Regions from separate parts of the Homo sapiens genome. Here region 2 is linked to region 1. Evidence: promoter capture Hi-C in 16 types of primary human blood cells and fetal thymus (Javierre and others, 2016). All regions are on one chromosome and are shown on one strand. Each heading gives the region's core, a stretch centred on a gene start or on the middle of the fragment in contact. The rest is flanking DNA. Distances are from core to core; before and after follow the strand shown.

Evidence for each region. The method cuts DNA at HindIII sites, captures the fragments that hold promoters and counts their contacts. A CHiCAGO score of 5 or more calls a contact.
Region 2: a fragment that was not itself captured here is called in contact with the fragment with the promoter of SLC25A37 in region 1 in 1 of 17 cell types (neutrophils); the score reaches 5.2 in neutrophils.

The regions. Positions count from the first base shown.
Region 1 is chr8:23,527,289-23,530,439 of GRCh38, reverse strand. SLC25A37 (solute carrier family 25 member 37) reads right to left here and starts at 1,484. Exons shown (of 4, transcript NM_016612.4): 1 at 1,228-1,484. The coding sequence starts at 1,437. RefSeq lists enhancers at 381-450, 1,741-1,790 and silencers at 951-1,200, 1,251-1,610. The HindIII fragment of the contact is 6,335 bases long and covers 1-3,151 here.
Region 2 is chr8:23,070,238-23,073,388 of GRCh38, reverse strand. It overlaps the pseudogene TNFRSF10B-AS1. Among named protein-coding and RNA genes, the nearest start is that of TNFRSF10B, 2.8 kb to the right of the region's middle. RefSeq lists enhancers at 2,038-2,537, 2,859-3,151. The HindIII fragment of the contact is 2,999 bases long and covers 77-3,075 here.

The DNA of each region.
Region 1 (3,151 bases), core at 235-2,734:
GGAGCCGGGAAAACCCTCTGAGTTATACTTTCTGGCCTTCATACCTGCTCATGCAGGACCAGCATCAGCAACAAGATAAAGCTGCTGGGGGTGCCTCTGTGGGACCTGCCTTGCAAAATAATTGCCACCTAGAGAGGCCTCCGAATCCTCCAAAGCACACTGCAGCTGCAGCCAGAGGATAGGAGGTGGTGTAGGAGCCTGGGCAAGGTAATCGGTTCGCCTCTCTGCGCCTCAGTTTCTTCATCTGTTAACCCCCAGGGCTGTTGCATGAATTAGGCGAGTTATGCCTATAAAAGTGCAACGTGTAACAGTCAATACTGGCATTACTTCCTGCACTACTCTATCCTGGCCCTGGGGTGTTCTGGGCAGGCTGACAGAGGGCAGGTCTCAGTCTACCAGGCAAAACGCACCTAGTAACGCTGCCTCTTTACAGAAATGCAGTTAAAACTACCGGGGCAAGTGACAGACAGGGTTTAAAGGAAACTGAGTGCCTCTCACACAATCCACAGCAAGGGCTGTAAGGCACAAGCCCACCCACCTCCCCGCAAGCAAAAGGAGAAGGCAAACGTCATTGCCTCCCGGCGGCTCGGCGACCCAAAGTCGGGGGAAGAAGTGCAGGAACCCTCAGAAAGGGGATCCCACGGGCCGCTGTCGAACCGGTAAAGAGCTGCCACTAGTCGAGAGAAGACTTGCCGGCCCCAAGTTCCCGAAATAACCCGGGGAGCAGCAGCCACACACCAAGTCCCGAGGGCGCGCGGCCGGGCCAGGGCCACACGTTTCTCAGCTCCAGCGTGGTGAGGGCTTCCCCTGCGGGGAGCTCCCTCGGAAACCGCGCACGTGTGGGCGGCCCCAGCCAGCCCGAACGGCCAGCGTGGTAAGACTGTGCAGAGCTTCAGCGATCGCGTCCCCCGGGAGCCCAGTCGCCGCCGAAGCCAGCGGTGCTCGCCACTCCGCCTCCCCCGCCTCAGCGCCGCCAGCAGCCGGGGCCGGGCACGCGGCTGGAGCAGCGGGCGGTGCGGGGCGAGGACCGGGCACCCTCGCGGGGTCGGCGGAAGGCGCGGCGCCCAGGCTGCGCGCAGCTGCTCCTGGGGCGACCCCGGCCAGCCGCGGTCCTGGGGAGAGCTCGGTTTCGGGACGCTGCCCCGAGGCTGCCGGCGCGCGGGATGCAAATGCGCGCGCGCGCTCCTTCTCCGCTCGTTGCGTCCCCGAAGTCTCCCCGCGCCTCACCTTCACCGAGTCCACCGGGTACATGACCGAGTGCTCCAGGATCCCGGCCATCGCTCCTGCTGTCATGTGGGTGGACACGGAGGCGCTAGTCGGCAGGTTCTCGTAGTCCTCCGACCCGGTGGCGTCCTTGCCGCCGCCGCCATCTCGGCTGTCCCCATCCATCCTCCGCGCCACCGCCTGGCTGCCCACGCTCCCGCTGCGCAGCTCCATCCGCCAGCTCGGCGGGGCGCAGGAGGCTGCAGGAGGTGGGCAGGGAGGGGGAGGGGCGCAAAACTTCACTTCTTAAAGTGGGAGCCACCTCCCCGGGGCCGCGGCGCCTGACGCCATGGCGGGCTGGGGTGGAGCGCAGCGGCCAGAGACACCAATCGCCGGGAACCAAGAGGCCGGCGGCCGCCGCGCCATTGGTGTGCGGGACAGTGGGGACCCGCCTCCCTGTGTGACGTCACCGTCCCGTGCACATTTCCAAGCAACCGGACGGGGGCGAGAGGAGACGTGGGGTGGCCCGGAAAGTTGTACTATCTTGAGGATGGGCTGGTCCGCGAGGGGCAGGGGAGGTCATTGGGGAGGGGCCGCAGTGGGGTATGCCCAGAGCTGGAGGCATGGGTGACAGTGTCTCGGGGAAAATCCGTCCCCGTGGCGGGTGGGTTTGCAAACAGAATCGCTCAGTGAGCTTTGGCATTCCTAAGGCCTGAATTCAAACCTCAGGGGCCCGTTCTAGACTGCTTTGTTGGAGAGACCCCCATTCATTCGAAATTGTTTCTCTCAACCTAAATACATAATGCAGAGCTAAATGTGTTCCTCTTGTTCTCACCGAGAGACCGAACCCACCCTGCCCTGGACCGAGCAAGGCTATAAGGAGTGACCAGGAGGGAGCCCCTCTGAGTAGGCACCTCCAGGAAATTTTCTTTGGGTTTGATAGGCCCATAAGGTCTGTAGAGGCCTGATCTCACAGTTAGGAGTGTGAACTGGCTGAGAGTAAAATCTTACAGCCTTGCCCCTGCCTGTCTTAAGACTGTGGTCACCTAGTTCTTAAAGTCGTCCTAAGCTGGCCTCTTCAATAAAGTGTAACCCAGGCTGTTTTAATATTGTTTTGCTCCAGTCTGGGGAAAAAGGGAGAAATCAGAAAGTAGGGGAGGGACCTGTCTGCCTCTGGAAGTGTCCGTCTAAATTGCGTGTTCCAGGGCTTAAGATGACTTGGGCTGATCAACTTGTAGGCACCAGGGCCTCCCTGCCTTATCTAGACAAGGCTTCTCGTCAGGAAAGCTGGATCCTGAGATATGAAAGGGTGGGGAAGACCCTGAAGAGGCTGAGCCTACTCTCTGCCCTCACCGTGATCAGCATCCCAAGCAGCTCTTAGGGATTTGAGATACAGTAATGTGAGCATGGGTAGAGGTCAATAGAGGCGTCAGGACCAAGAGCACTGTTTGCCTAGTTTTGGTAGCTGCAGATAGTAGCTGGCAAGCTGAGTGCTAAGGATGTGATAAGTAAAAACAGGCTCTGTGTTTTTACTTAGCCATCTCTGTAATGGCTAGAGAAAACTCTACTTTTGTCAAAGGTCGTTTTTAAGAAATACTGATCAGAAGCTGTTGATCCTTATTTTTAAGTGGATGCCCTTTAAGCATTAAGTCTGTAAGAACCCACTGCCCCACTTCTGGGAATGTAACAAAAACCCAAATACACAGGAAGCTCTTCTTCAAAGCATTCCTTAGAGCAGTAAATCATTGGAAACAACCTAAATGGTCAACCAGAAGGGAATGGCTAAGGAAATTATGATGTGTGCATAATATTAGTGAAATATTATGCAGCCTTTACAAGTGGAATTTACATTACACGACATGGACGATGATTATAATGTAATGTTAGGTGAAAAAAACAAAACGAAATTCTATAACCATTGCATTCACAAAGATGTAAATGTGCTCAG
Region 2 (3,151 bases), core at 327-2,826, 460 kb after region 1:
AAAGTATTCAGGGATAAAGAGAGAAAAATAAATTTAGATTGTATACATATGTAAAATATATTTTAAAAGGTAAGCTTGTCTTTTTTATTCCTTAAAGGAGCAGATATTAAAAAAAAAAGAATAGAATAACTCATCTTTTTAGCCTCCACATATTTACTTGCTTCTTCCCAAGTTACTTGGTCTAATTCAGTATATAAGTAACTGACTCTCACTGCTTTTTCTGTGCCATGTAAAACTTGCATTGTATTAATTTGTGTGCTTTTCTCCTGTGGACCTGTCTTATGTCAACTTAATTCTCAGGCCCAGCCAAAAAAAAAATACCCTTAAAGGGAGCTTAGCTTGCCTCCATGACCCTCAATGGTGGCTGTAATCAAACCACATCTTCCAGGCAAACAATACCACATCCTATGGCCTTGCAATGGCATGGCCTCCCTCCAGCACAGCCTCTCTGGAGGAGGGGGAGGCAAGGGTGGTGAGATCTCAGGCCTCCCTCATGCTACCTCCTATTAGTTATATGACCCCTGGTGTCACCTCTCCCACCACACTGTAGGCTCCAGGGAGTAGGATTCACATGGGGTTCATTTGTCCTCCCTGCCTTCAGCAGACTCCAGGCACAGGTGTTCCCAGAGTAAAGGGCTCACTGTCTGCTTCCTGGGTGAATCATTCTCCCCGCAAACCCATGAGGTGAGTGCAGTCGTGGCTTCAGCTCACCGCCTGACAGGCTCCAGGCTGTAGCACAGGGAGGGCCCTGTGGACTCTGCTGAGGAACCATACGAGCTCCCAGAGGCCAAGTGCAGGACAGAGAATAGAGAAGCAGCTGCTCAGAGAACTCTAGCCCTGTAGAGGTGCAAATATGGCTGCTATTATACAGAAGGTGAGGCCAAAAATGCTGGAGACACTGCTCCTGAATCTCAGTTTTGCCACTTGTAAAACAGGGAAAACAACCTACTCTCATGTCCCCAGGTTGTTAGGAAAATCCACTACATGAAGATGTGCAGTCTCTGGCTGGGAGCAGGACACCAGCTGCCCAACAGCACAGGCTCAGGGCATGGCACTGTCTCCACTGTCCCCATCCCCAACCTGGAAGCTAGAGCCTCGCTGCCCTGCCACTTCTGGATGCAGGACAGAGAACCGGAACTGGGACTGTGGTCTCTCAGTAGAGGCTGTGAACAGCCATCTGTGGCCACACGGATTGAGACCTTTCCTGCTCACTCTTCAAACTGGGGCACCGGCTGGGTGCCCAACAGAAAGACAATTGGAAGAGTGGCAGGTAAACCAGGCTGTGGCCCTGCAGTGCCATCACCGTCCTCATTTGAATTCTGGCTCGTCTGTTCCTCTACGGCCCCTCCGCATGGCGCTCCACCCCAGTCTTCAGAAATTTCTGCCTCAAGCTCAGGGAGCTGGTACTGAGGTACAGGTAGGAGAAGGTGCAGCCTCTGCTGAGTGGAGGACATGTGCCCTGGGGATCCAGAGTCTAGAGTGACTGACACCAGCCCTGCAATTTGTCCTCCTAGACCTGTTAACAGAGCCTGCAGAAGTTTACACAGGGCTGCTGAAGATTTTTATCCCCTCATTTTACAGGAAGGAGCTGGGGCCATACCAGAGTCAGAGCTGGACCGGGAGCACGGCAGGGCCCAGCCATCCACAGCCTCCAATTTCAGTACTCTCTAACAACCTGAGAGCCTGAGCCTTCGGATCTTCTTGATTCCTACTTTGATAAAGAGAGGGATGGGGTTGGAAGGACCTGGCATAGAGATTGGACCAGTCCGGCATTGACAGAGCCAGGACCTGGGGTCCGGAACTGAGCTCAGCTCCAGGCTCATCTGAAGTCACCCTGACAGCCTGAGGATGGAGACCTTATTTCCATTAACAGGCATGGCGGTTGGCAGGGACTGGCCCCAGCTGAGCACGGTTTTCCAAGTACACAGCTGGGAATTAAGTCTTCTCTGCCGCCCTCCCCTGTAGTCTTGCCTGGATCCCCCCAGTCATCTACTCCCAGTACCAAAAACTCCTGTATTCTTGAAAATCCGTAGTACTGAGAGGTGACAGCTTGCTGGCAGTCCTCAACAGCCCTCGCTCGCTCTCGGCGCCTCCTCTGCCTGGGCTCCCACTTTGGCGGCACTTGAGGAGCCCTTCAGCCCACCGCTGCACTGTGGGAGCCCTTTTCTGGGCTGGCCAAGGCTGGAGCCCGCTCCCTCAGCTTGCACGGAGGTGTGGAGGGAGAGGCGCGAGCGGGAACCGGGGCTGCGCGCGCGGCACTTGCGGGCCAGCTGGAGTTCCGGGTGGGCGTGGGCTCGGCGGGCCCTGCACTCGGAGCAGCCGGCCGGCCCTGCCGGCCCCGGGCAATGAGGGGTTTAGCACCCGGGCCAGCGGCTGCGGAGGGTGTACTGGGTCCCCCAGCAGTGCCGGCCCACTGGCGCTGCGCTTGATTTCTCGCCGGGCCTTAGCTGCCTTCCCGACGGGCAGGGCTCGGGACCGCCATGCCTGAGCCTCTCACCCCCTCCGTGGGCTCCTGTGCAGCCGGAGCCTCCCCGACGAGCACCTCCCCCTGCTCCAGGGCGCCCAGTCCCATCGACCACCCAAGGGCTGAGGAGTGCGGGCGCACGGCGCGGGAGCACGGCGCGGGACTGGCAGGCAGCTCCACCTGCAACCCCGGTGCGGGATCCACTGGGTGACGACACCTGGGCTCCTGAGTCTGGTGGGGACGTGGAGAACCTTTATGTTTAGCTAAGGGATTGTAAATACACCAATTGGCACTGTGTATCTAGCTCAAGTTTTGTAAACACACCAATCAGCACCGTGTGTCTAGCTCAGGGTTTGTGAATGCACCAATTGACACTCTGTATCTAGCTAGTCTGGTGGGGCCTTGGAGAACCTTTGTGTCCACACTCTGTATCTAGCTAATCTGGTGGGGAAGTGGAGAACATTTGTGTCTAGCTCAGGGATTGTAAACCACCAATCAGCGCCCTGTCAAAACAGACCACTCCGCTCTACCAATCAGCAGGGTGTGGGTGGGGCCAGATAAGAGAATAAAAGCAGGCTGCCAGAGCCAGCAGTGGTAACACTGTGGAAGCTTCCTTCTTTCCCTCTGCAATAAATCTTGCTACTGCTCACTCTTTGGGTCCACACTGCCTTTATGAGCTGTAACACT